2 separate regions of the Homo sapiens genome follow, and region 2 is linked to region 1. Evidence: promoter capture Hi-C in human tissues and cell types (Jung and others, 2019). All regions are on one chromosome and are shown on one strand. The core of a region is centred on a gene start or on the middle of the fragment in contact, and the rest is flanking DNA. Distances in the headings are between cores, read along the strand shown. Region 1 holds the start of CD302 (CD302 molecule). Region 2 overlaps LY75-CD302 (LY75-CD302 readthrough).

Region 1 (6,733 bases), core at 988-3,487:
AGCTGGGCTCTGGTTCATTTGTTGGCATTCTCTGTGAGCCCACGGGGGAATCACATCCCTTCTTTGGGTCACTCAATTTCCTTACTAGTACCACTTCTAACACTCTATGACTCTCCTTATAGACCCCTTGGGTCAAATTTCCTTGGTGTAACCACTCTGGATTATCAGAAGTGTGGAAAGGGTTAGAAAGAGTTGGAAAGGGTCAGATTTTATTTTTTTAAAAATAGACTAATTTTTGAGCAGTTTTAGATGTATACAAAAAATGTAGCAGAAGGTACAGAGCTCCCATGTACCTCCTTACACATACCCCAGTTTCCCCAATTATTAACATCTTGCATTAGCAGGTACATTTGTTACAGTGGATGAGCCAATATTGACACATTATTAACTAAAGTCCATTGTCCACACTAGGGTTCATCTTCGTTTTGTGCATTCTATGGGTTTTGACACATGTATAGTGATACACATCTACCATTACAGTATCCTACAGAATAATTTCATGGCTCTAAAAATCCTCTGTGTTCCATCTATTCATCCCCTCCTTCTTCCCACCCCAACCCCTGGCAACCATTTATCTTTTTACTGTCTCCATAGTTTTGCCTTGTCTAAAATGTCATATAGTTGGAATCATATAGTATGCAGTCTTTTCAGATTGGCTTCTTTCTCTTAGCAATACATATTTAAAGTTCTTCCATGTCTTTTTGTGGCTTGATAGCTCATTTAATTTTGGTACTGAGTAACATTTCATTGTTTGGATGTGCCATTGTTTATCCATTCACTTATTGAAGGACATCTTGTTTGCCTCTAGGTTCTGGCAATTATGAATAAAGCTGCTATCAACATTCATGTGCAGGTTTTTGTGTGTATGTAAGTTTTTAACTCATTTGGATAAATACCAAGGAGTTGTGATTGCTAGATGGTATGGTAAGAGTACGTTTAGTTTTGGAAGAAGCTTCCAAATTGTCTTCCAAAGTGGCTGTACCATTTTGCATTTGCACCAGCATTGAATGAGAGTTCTTTTTGCTCCACATCTTTGCCAGCATGTGGTCTTGTCAGTGTTTTTGGATTCTGGTATCTAATAGGTATGTAGTGGTATTTCATTTTTGTTTTCATATACAATTCAGCAATGACATATGATGTTGAGCATCTTTTCATCTATTTGCCATTATATAACTTCTTTGATGACGTGTGTATTCAGATCATCTGACCATTTTTTTTAACTGGGTCATTTGTTTTCACGTTGTTGAGTTTAGACTTGATTTTATAGAACTCTTTTGCCAATGACATGAGGCTTAAACAAGCACCCTTGCTTGACCCTGGCTAGTGTTGTCCAGAGGCCCTCATGGGTGAAGTATAATTGCACAGTTTATGCATACATTGTAGCAAACATAGCTTAAAGACTCTTCATCCAGGAGCTGGTAACAGAGAAAAGTTGTCTAAGAGACATAGTCCACTGAAAGGGGTCTTTGAAAAGGAGGATTCTGGCCAGTAGATCCAAAGAAGAAGGCTGGCAAACGCCACCTTAACCAACTGATCCAAGTTAACATCAGTGATGAGACATCGACATCTTGTCCTTCTCGAGCACGTACATCACTTCTGGGGAACTCTTTCCCAAAAAAGCGCAACCTGAATCCAATTAGAAGGAAATGTCAGACAAAATGAAACTGAGGGACATTCTACAAAACGACTGGCCAGTACTTTTTAAATGTGGTTTGATCGTGAAAGAAAAAGAATGACAGAGAACCGTCCTAGATTAAAGGGAGACTAAGGAGACACGACATGCAATGTATGATCCTGGATTGAATCTTGGAACAGAAAAGGACCCTTAGAGGGGCAATTAATGAAATGTGGTAAGTGCTGTAGATTAGCTAATCGCATTATCCCAGTGCGAGTGCCCTGTGTTTGATCACTGCACTGGCGTTATATACAATGTCAATATTTAGAGAAGCTGGCTGAAGGGTTACGGAAATCTCTTGTGCTGTTTTTGCAACATTTTCGAAAGTCCTAAATTATTTCAATTCAAATGAAAAGTTTAAAAAACAAAAATTAGAAGTTCCAGAAGGCCGCGCGCCAGCCGCTCCTGCGGGACGGGACACCCGGGTTCTCCTGGTGGGAGCCCCCAGTGCCGTTCACGTTCCGCCCGGGGGGGGGATTAAACTCGCACGCGAGAAGCACCGCCCCCGCTCCCGCCCCGCCCCGCTCCTCTCCGGCCGCGCAGCCGCTGCCGCCCACCCGCACCCGCCGTCATGCTCCGGGCCGCGCTGCCCGCGCTCCTGCTGCCGTTGCTGGGCCTCGCCGCTGCTGCCGTCGCGGGTAAGCCCTTACGTAGTCCCTCGCCGGGACCGTGCGCGACCGCCTTCGCCCCCTTCCCAACGCACGCTCTTCGTCCCCGCGCACCCGAGGGCGGCCCGCAGACGCAACACCCGGCCGGCCATCCCGCCCTTCCCTGCACGCCCGTCCCCCGTGGGTCCTGGCTCCGGGTCACCTCTCACCCGCCTGCCCTCGGGGAGGGGAGGTGGCCGAGAATAAGGGAGGGCTCTGTCTTCCTCGGAGTCCACATCCTCACCGCAGACCCCACTCCGCGGGGAGGGAACCCCCAAATTAGGCCAGTTGGCCGGAGAACTGAGGGACTTGGAGTCGCACGACGGGCGCCGTTTCAGGGCAATTTCGGGCTGAAATGAGAAGCGGGGACGTTGGTGGCGATTTCCCCTGCTGGTGCGCGGCCGGAGTGGGGTTGCTGGGATGGGGGTGGGGGCCGGAGGAAGTAGGCCCTCTTTTGCAAGCAGCGCTGTTTGTCTAGTTGGTTGGTGTTCAAGTTGTTTAAACAGGAAAACAGTTCAGCCAAATAACCCCTGGATGGAAGAGGAACGGGAATAGGCAAAGCTTGGATTTCACTGAAATCAAGGAGTTTTAAAGTTCTAGTCTGCTGTTGTGCAAGTGACATCTGAAAAATCACACACGTGATCATTCATTTACAAAACGACTCGTGAGGAAAATGCACAATTCTATTGACCGTGGTCTTTATTTTTAAAAAATTTCCATACAAGCATGTCAAAAATATGTGGATGGGGAGACTCTGGAGAACACAGACTTCCAAAAACACCACTGACTGAATAATTCCAGGAATTAAAGAGCAAAATAAACAAGAACTAAATGAGTACTTGTGTGGGCTTAAATAAAGTGCAAGAGATTTAAATAAAATGCAAGAGATTCCCCCCCCCCACCCCTTGCCCCAGATTTCACTGCGTTTTTATAATAACTGCCTGCTCGAAGTCTACTGACAGGAATATTTCAGTGGACCTCAGTGTTGGAGGCAGCAGCAGCTCAGAACTTGGATACAAACCCAAGGTTCCTTTCTTGAAAACTTCTGTGGACCTGCATTTATGACTGGTTGTGACATCTGCTGCCTATCAAAGGGGCAGAAACAAGATGTGCCCATGTTCACATTGTTCAGACTGGGAACATTAATTTTGTCTAAGACAAAGCTGGGCTGTCTCTGAACCCTCCTTCTGCACACCCTCATTTTGCGAGCCAGTAACATCTCAACTCTCATGTAAACCACCCTCTGCGAGGCTGTGCATTTGTACTTTAGGCTAGTCGAATTTTCTTGTCAGATTTTTCTTTCTTGTCAGACTTTTAAAGAAAATCAGTTTCTAGATTTTGGTATGTCTCTTCTTCAGTGAAGCTGTTTTGACCAGCAATAGAGGGCAAATTTCCCTTTGGAAATTTTTGTGCATTTCCTTTGATAAGTCCAGTGTGGATCAATAGGCTTTTCAAGAGCTTTAGAAAAGTGCATGATGAATAAATTAATGTTAATTAATCAGCTCCTCCCAGTCAGGAAGCTTTAAGGATTAATTTGGAAATGAGTGTGAGCTTTGACCTAGCTAGTTAACCAACTTATCTGCACTTCAGTAAAACAGAGATAATACTTACTCATGGGGCTATTGGGAGCATTAAGTGGGAACTCCACGTCTAGTCCCTATTACAGGCGTGGTTCATCTTGGTTTCCTTCCCTTTATTCTCTTCATACAAAATGAAGGGTAATTGTTGCAACCAGAAAACGTATGAATACCACCTTATGTATATTGGATGTTTATGGTTACTGAACACATTCATATGTATGCTAATGTTATAGGGCTGAAAAACTAAGTGTGTTTTTCATAATACTTTACAAATCTCCCATCCAAGCAAGATCAGGGGTCATATTTGGCTTAGAACTAAGTCAAGAAAGAGTTTGTTGCTGAATACCAAGATCTTAATAGAAAAGCTCTTATGATGTTGCATAATAAATATGGGTATTGCATATAAATGTGATGTTGAAACGGAAATCATTGTTATTGTCTGTCATTCTGGAGGTTATTAGTGAAGTGATCTTAACCTTGTTCTTAGCTATTATTTTGAAAATCACAGTGGACAAAACATTCTTTAAATTCCTGAGTGAAAATCCATGGCATCGCTTTAAAAAGTTTTTCCGTAAGGGTGCTTAAGCACATAATAGATGATCAGTATGTATTTATTTGGTCAGTGGTTTCCTATGCCTGGCATGAGCTGAGTGAACAAGCATGTTCCGAGTAAGTCCTCATTCTGTGATCATCATGTGGATCAGAATCTAGGGATTTTGAATTGCCATGTCCTACAAGCCTTAGATGAGGTGCCTCTGCCTTCTTCCCTGATGTCATCTCTTACCACCCTTCCTGCCATTCACTCTGTGTATCCACAGAGTAAACAGTATCTGGGTACTCCAACACCTCTGGTCCTTCTGTGCACACCACCTTCCCCCAGTCCTTGGCATGGCTGCCCCCACCTCCACCATTCAGATCTCTGTTCATATGTCACCTTCTCCGAAGCCTCCCTGAACACCCACATTCTCTGTCACATGTCCATGTTTTATCTTTTCCAAGCCTTTCTGAATGCATTGTGTTTATTCATCTGTCTTGCTTGTTGCTTCTCTTACCAGGGGAAAGAAGCTCCATAACAGAGATTTTACCATCTTGTGGATTTTTGTTTTGTTTTGATTTGTGTCTCTGCACTTTATTCTAAGTTATAATAAAAGGATGAAAAAATTTAGGTGAGTTATTTAAAAAGTAGGTAGGATAAGTGGATTGCAATTTTTTTCAAATTATATTACCTCTGCTATGCACTCATTTCATAATGAATTCAAAGCCTTAAATCATCTTAATCTATTGCTGCCACCTTTTCTTTCTTTCTTTTTTTTTTTTTCCGAGATGGAGTCTCACTCTGTCACCCAGGCTGGAGTGCGGTGGCGCAATCTCGGCTCACAGCAACCTCTACCTTCTGGGTTCAAGCAATTCTCCTGCCTCAGCCTCCCGAGTAGCTGGGATTACAGGCATGCGCCACCATGCCTGGCTAACTTTTGTATTTTTAGTAGAGATGGGGTTTCACCATGTTGGCCAGGCTGGTCTCAAACTCCTGGCCTCGTGATCTGCCCACCTCGGCCTCCCAAAGTGCTGGGATTACAGGTGTGAGCCACCGTGCCCGGCCTGATGCCACCTTTTCTGACTCTTGTGTATGGCACAGTTATGTTTCAGGGGAAATTATCTCAGATTAAATATTAGAGTATTTTAAAATAAATTTTGAGCTGGGCGTGGTGGCTCACGCCTGTAATCCCAGCACTTTGGGAGGCCGAGGCGGGTGGATCACGAGGTCAGGAGATCGAGACCATCCTGGCTAACACGGTGAAACCCTGTCTCTACTAAAAATACAAAAAATTAGCCGGGCGTGGTGGCAGGCACCTGTGGTCCCAGCTACTCAGGAGGCTGAGGCAGGAGAATGGCGTGAACCCAGGAGACAGAGCTTGCAGTGAGCTGAGATCGCGCCACTGCACTCCAGCCTGGGCGACAGAGCGAGACTCAGTCTCAAAATAAATAAATGAATAAATAAATAAATAAATAAATAAATAAATTAATTAATTTTGAAATGTTAATGTTTATTTTTCTTCCAATGAAAAAGTGAAATTTCAATTAGGTATTATTTCAGGACTTCTTTTACTGTTGAGAATCTTTTAACAATTTGCTTATGTGTTGAAAACTAGTTTTGCAGCAAGGTTACTTTCCATAATTTTTATTGTGCATATCAAGTATTTCATTCCTTCTGTGGGTTATTTAGTGTTTTTTTTTTTATTATTTTATTTTATTTTATTTTATTTTATTTTATTGTTTTGAGACAGGGCCTCACTCTGTCACCCAGGCTAGAGTGCAGTGGTGCAATCATGGCTCACTACAGCCTTGACCTGCTGGGCTCAAGTGATCCTCCCACCTCAGCCCCCTGAGTAGCTGGGACTACAGGTGCATGCCACCATGCCCTGCTAATTTTTTTTTTTTTTTTTTGTAGAGGTGGGGTCTCACTTTGTTGCCCAGGCTAGTCCCAAACTCCTGAGCTCAAGTGATCCTCCTACCTCAGCCTTCCAAAGCTCTGGGATTACAGGTGTGAACTGCCACGCCTGGCCTATTTTAGATTTTGAGAGCAAATCTTGAGACCAAATCTTTAAAAAATAGACCAGTGATGCCCAAAGAGAAAGGTACAGATTAACAATGGCACACCCCTTCTATGAATATACATTATAACAGCCCTTCTGAAGAGGGAAGTGATGGGACAATATGGAGATGGATGTCTTGAAAGCTAGATTGGGAAGAGTGATATGGAGAGGGGATGAGGTGTCAGAGTGCCTCAATTTATTTGGGATTCAGAGAGATCTTGAAGCTCAGAGTACAGC
Region 2 (6,189 bases), core at 111-2,610, 39 kb before region 1:
TTTTAGACAGTTGGAATCAGACTATTTTGTAACTCCCCTCCCCACTTAATGATTTGGGTCTTACTTCTTATCCTATTTTCAACCTTTACCTATGGTTCTCTTTTCCCTTTCACCCTTAATTTTAACATATTCTGTGTAGCTGTTTAACTATATATCCTAATAGCTGCCTTAATTCTTTGAAAATGACAGGATGTTAATAAATACTTTACATTGAAAGCAATGAGAAGATATTGAAAGATTTTAAACAGAGTAGTGGCAATATAAGACTTTACTTAAGTAGACGACACTGTGTGGAAGGCCGGGGAGGACGCAAGCAGCTGGAGAGAGGGAGAGCAGTTATTTTTCTATAAATTCATGCAGGAAATGCTGTTGGCGTTTACAGTGTCTGAGGAGAGGCAGCTCTGGGTTATGTGAAGTGCAGAGTGTGGCCATGCAGTGGGTCACTCAAGTACCCAGCTTGAAGAAATAAAAATACATAGAATTAAAGGAAGTCAAGAAGGCTTGGAAACATGAACACAGGCATCCCAAGTTAATGGTAGGACCGGGAGGACAGCAAGAATTGGGACATCTTAGTGAATGTCAGGGAGGAGCAAGGCGACCAAGTCCTCAGTGAATGTCATGGGGAGTTTGCAGTGATACAAGGGGAATAATCCTGAAAGGAAATAAAAGGAGATAAAAATATCCACTACTCCTTTCTCATAGTCCTGTGGTATCTGAGAATAGAATATCAAATAGTCTTCCCCTGTGGGTGCTGAAAGGAGATTATTCCCTTGGAAAAGCCAGATTTATGTATTTATTTAAGATTCAGGGGGTACACATGCAGGATTGTTACAATACATACACTGTGGGATGCTGAGGCTTGGGCTTCAGTTGAACCTGTCACCCAAATAGTGAACACAGTACCCAATAGGTAGTGTTTCAACCCTTGCTCCACTCCCTCCCCACTTTTGGAGTCCCCAGACAATATCATGCCCATCTTTACATCCATGTGTACCCAATATTTAGCTCCCACTTATATAAGTGAGAACATGTGGTATTTGGTCTTCTGTTCCTGCATTAATTTACTTAGGATAATGTCCTCCAGCTACATCCATGTTGCTGTAAAGGAGATGATTTCGTTCTTTTTTATGGCTGCACAGTATGCCATCATGTATATGTGCTACATCTTCTTGATCCAATCCACTGCTGATGGACATCTAGATTGATTCCCTGTCTTTGCTGTTGTGAATAGTGCTACAATAAACATATGAGCGCAGGTGTATTTTGGTAGAACGATTTGTTTTCCTCTGGGTATATACCCAGTAATGGGATTGCTGGGTTGAATGGTAATTCTATTTTTGTTTTTTGGGAAATCTCCAAACTACTTTCCGCAGGGGCTGAACTAATTTATAATCCCACCAACAATGTGTGAGCATTCCCTGGAAAAGCCAGAGTTAAATTAAGATCAATTAAGATCAAGAATTTAGTGAAAAGATATTTATAGTCTTCATACTTTGTATTCAGTAAAAAGATAAAAGGTGTGGGATGATTTATTTAGATGGAATGGAAATTCCAAAGGATCAGGGACAGGGTTAGGTGGGGAGTGCAGCAAAGGGGAAGAAATGCAGGGCAGTCTGAATGAGTGCAGGCAAAGTCGCATGGCCGAAGGGCCACACTGGAGGCCACAGTGGCTTAGGCCCTAACTGGGTTAGGTTAGGGGCTAGGATTACAGCTGGAACTCTGGTCATGAACATTTCAGAATGAAGCAGCGAGTGGTGTTGAGGCTTGACTGTGTTGCTGTTTATGGTTTACTAAGGAGACTGTGTCGCTTCGTTCCATATTTCAAATAAACTAGTGATGCAGATTGTCTTGGGACTCAGGAAAGCTTAGCTCAGTGGGTCTGTTAGGCCAGCACCAGGCCCACCAGTGGGTATGTAAGGTCTCTGGCAGCACCATGGGGAAGCTCAGACAGGCCTGTACCCCACAATCCATCTCCTGTACCTAGATGGGTGGTCAGGACCTTGGCAGGGTGTAAAGGCAGACGTTCACAGACCTCTAGCACACAACAGAATCTAGTGAATGAAGAAGCTTCTCTCCCCAACAAGTGTGAAAACAGTGATGTGAGAGCCACAGCGCCTGAAGAGTTCAGAGGAAGGGAACCACCAGCTCTCTGTGTGCCAGCTAGCCCCTGGGTTGCGGGCTTTACACATGTTATCCCATTAATTCCAGCCCCACGAAGTTAAGTGTCACACTTAACTTGGTAGGGGATGGAAATTTGGAGAGATGGCACATGAAAGCTAGTAAGTGACTGAATCAGGATTCAAAACCATGTAGGTTTAGCTCCGTAGCCCATATTCTTTCCACTATGCCAGGTGGTCTCTGATCTAATCAGTACTTATAGTGATCCTCACCCCATTTTAGCTTTCTGATTTCTGATAACCAGTGGATCCAATTATGTGTGAGGCAGCGTAGCATAATGGTTAGGACATAGACTCTGGGGATCGACAGCCTGGCAGAAAGGCCCAGCACTGTGGTTTGTATTCTGTGGGACTTTGCACAAGTTACATACCTTTAGTTTCCTCATCTTTAAAATGGAGATAATAATAGTACCTCTCCTATATGGTTGTTACAAGGATTAAGTAAGCCAATATTTGTAAAGCATTTAGAACAATGCTTGTTATGTAGTAAATGGTATGTAAATGTGTATTAAATATTAAAAAAATTAAAAATCATTAGATTGACCATGGGAGTCAAAATAATACAAAGGGTTAACATCAATATTGCCACCTGAAATGTACTTCTGCTCCTTACAGGATGAACTCAACTTTGGTTGGTCAGATGGGAAACGTCTTCATTTTAGTCGCTGGGCTGAAACTAATGGGCAACTCGAAGACTGTGTAGTATTAGACACTGATGGATTCTGGAAAACAGTTGATTGCAATGACAATCAACCAGGTGCTATTTGCTACTATTCAGGAAGTATGTGAATTTCAGATCTTTTAATTCTTAAATTATTAACAGTCCCATAAGTGGTAGAATTTCTGAGGAGTGGTTTTATAAAATCTGGTTTTGGAATTGTGAAGAAATTATAGTCATGTCTTTTTATGGCAACATTTGTTGTGAAAATTTGTATTCAAGTAGAATTATATATTACATATATTATTATTAATGGGTCATTTTAGGCATGTTTTATTTTTATGTCAGCTGACAATGGGGATTAACACTTAAAATCCCATTGTTACTCTACCTCTTTCTGCATATATTTATAGTTGTAGAAAGCTTACATTTGTGAGAATTCTTTTGTGATTCATAATATCACAACTAACAGGACTTTTATGAGTCTTAAGATTCACAGCAACCACCTCAAGCTAGCTTAAGACAAGGGGAAATTTAGGATCCCCAAAACGGGGATAGAGCTGAACCTATAACTGGAGATGAGTTGACAATTTCTAAATTTCACTTTGTAAATCCCTAGAGAACATCTCATGAACTTAGCCTGAGTCAGGTGTGCAGTCTCTAGCCCAGTCAGAGGAAAGTGTTTTTACAACTGGCAAGGTCACATTTGTGGGTCTGTGGTAGAAAGAAGACACTGCTTCATGGACAAAGGGACTTATTGTGATCCAGGAGAGATACTGAGTGATCTCTGCCACATATTAAATCAGTTTAATGTATTTGAGTGGAATATGTTTATATTTGTATCTTTGTGAATGTATGGCCTTTTCATAAAATGGAAAAAGATCATAATCAGATACTGTAGATGTCAGATTTTAAATATTATTTTTGTTTGACTTGGTTAAAGCAATAACTTATTTAGAACATCAATGTTTCATTTAAATGTTCCTTTAAAATTAATAGTATCAGTAGACAGAAACTTTAAAATAAATTCTCAGAGTTATAGTTAGGTGACTTTTAATAATGAATATGTTTGTACAGCATCTCTAGGGGTGGTCCCTTGTACTTGACATTTGGTAATGCAGGAAGACAGAAACTGCATTTAACCTAATAGCACCTCATTTTTTACATTCTTCCATGCCACAGCAGGGGTAAGAAAATTGTGTCAAGTAATTTCCTTCCTATAGAAAGCTGGCTTTTTGTGTGCTATATCTGAGTATAAACAGAGACAGGCTTCACCAGGATATTACTTCTCGGCTTCCTGAATATTTCCTACAAATCAAGCCTAATGACTGCAAACAGGATTTAACATTTATATCTCAAATTAGAATTCTTACCATTAACTCTTTTTCTAGATGAGACTGAAAAAGAGGTCAAACCAGTTGACAGTGTTAAATGTCCATCTCCTGTTCTAAATACTCCGTGGATACCATTTCAGAACTGTTGCTACAATTTCATAATAACAAAGAATAGGCATATGGCAACAACACAGGATGAAGTTCATACTAAATGCCAGAAACTGAGTAAGTATTATATTAGTCCATTCTCATGTTGCTATAAGGACATACCCGAGGCTAGGTAATTTATAAAGAAAAAGAGGTTTAATGGCCTCACAGTTCCACATGGCTGGGGAGGCCTCACAATCATGGCAGAAGGCAAAGGAGAAGCAAAGACATGTTTACATGGCAGCAGGCAAGAGAGCATGTGCAGGGAAACTGCCCTTTGTAAAACCATCAGATCTCATAAGACTTACTATCACGAGAACAGCACGGGAAAAACCCACCCTCAAGATTCAATTACCTCCCACCAGGTCCCTCCCATGACATGTGGGGATTATGGGAGCTACAATTCAACATGGGATTTGGATGGGGAAACAGCCAAACCATATCAAGTATATTATACTGTCATTACTTATTGTATTTTGCTAATTAAAAAAATATTTCCTGTGTTATAAATATTTCTAATTAGCACTAGTAACTAGATGACAAAAATATTCATCTCCTAATATCTACATTATCAGTGACAAAGTATTAAAATTTGTGTTAGTTAAAATGGAAAGTATAGGCATAACTCCTTTCTTTACTCTTCCATTCAAGAACTAGTCTATGTTTGTAAGGAAGGCAGGTTCTCCTTTAAAAGGAAAAGAAATGGGCTAGGCACACTGGCTCATGCCTGTAATCCTAGTTCTTTGGAAGGCTGAAGTGGGAGGATTGTTTGATGCCAACCATTCAAGACCAGCCTGGGCAACATAGTGAGACTTTCTGTCTGCAAAAAATTAAAAGCATGGTGGCACATGCCTGTAATTCTAGCTACTTGGGAGGCTAAGGAGGGAGGATCTTTGAACCCAAGAGGTTGAAGGTGCAGTGAGCTGTGATTGAACCACCTGCACTCCAGCCTGGATAACAGGTGACCCTATCTCCAAAAAAAAAAAAAAAAAGGAAGGGGGAAAGAAATGACACACAAGAGAGCAGAGAACTGGACATTAAATCAAGCTAGGCTATGGGGAAGTGAAAATAAGTTAGTTGGAGCAGTCAAAAGCTTAGATACACCACAAGGCAGCAGCTAAGCTTAAAGAAGTGCACATTTCACATTTTCAGCTCTCAAGAGTCTTCAGATAATTCCTATGAGATCCACTAAGGATTTGTGACTTCCAAATGATGGAACTGTTGGAACCAATGGAACAATGAACTTAGTGAAAGTTGCTATAGAAAATATCAAACCAGTATTTCCCAAAGCATGCTCCGTATAACATCAGTCTTGAGAGATGGTCTGCAAAAAGTCCTTAGAATAAGGTTGAAAAAAATAACCAACAAAAAAGAAAAAGGTTGAGAAACACTAGACACCATAGCTTCCTGTTGGACATTAACAAATGTACATTAACATATGCCTTAAGAAATACTGGCATAAACTAGTTTAATTTTGTTTAAACCAATGTTTGCAAACTTTTTTTAAAATCCATGTAGATCTTTTCTGAAACTTCCTTGTTAATTTTGTGAGGAACACCCTTTGGGAAATATTAAGCCTTTTTAACCCTCATACTGAAAACTAAGGAAAAGGAAGATCTGTCGTATAGCCCAGCAGTCCCCAACCTTTTTGGCACTGACAGGGAGGGGTGGATGGTTTCAGGATGAAACTGTTCCACCTCAGATCATCAGACCTTAGTTAGATTCTCATAAGGAGTATGTAAGCTATATCCCTCGCATGCATAGTTCACAAGAGGGTTTGCACTCCTCTGTCAATCTAATGCCACAGTGCTCTAACAGGAGGCAGAGCTCAAGCGGTGATGCTCGCTTGCCTGCTGCTCACCTCCTGCTGTAT

The links. The method cuts DNA at HindIII sites, captures the fragments that hold promoters and counts their contacts. A contact is called where the count stands out against the background at its distance.
Region 2: a fragment that was not itself captured here is called in contact with the fragment with the promoter of CD302 in region 1 in 1 of the 25 tissues and cell types used here (lymphoblastoid cells).

The regions. Positions count from the first base shown.
Region 1 is chr2:159,793,712-159,800,444 of GRCh38, reverse strand. CD302 (CD302 molecule) reads left to right here and starts at 2,237. Exons shown (of 6, transcript NM_014880.5): 1 at 2,237-2,313. The coding sequence starts at 2,247. All of the region lies in intron 33 of LY75-CD302 (LY75-CD302 readthrough), which reads left to right. It overlaps LOC124906083 (a long non-coding RNA gene), which reads right to left and starts at 5,255. Exons shown (of 2, transcript XR_007087273.1): 1 at 2,493-5,255; 2 at 193-1,626. The HindIII fragment of the contact is 5,989 bases long and covers 1-3,363 here.
Region 2 is chr2:159,832,249-159,838,437 of GRCh38, reverse strand. LY75-CD302 (LY75-CD302 readthrough) reads left to right here. Exons shown (of 38, transcript NM_001198760.1): 26 at 2,793-2,958; 27 at 4,227-4,394. It overlaps LY75 (lymphocyte antigen 75), which reads left to right. Exons shown (of 35, transcript NM_002349.4): 26 at 2,793-2,958; 27 at 4,227-4,394. Among named protein-coding and RNA genes, the nearest start is that of CD302, 37 kb to the right of the region's middle. The HindIII fragment of the contact is 5,948 bases long and covers 1-4,334 here.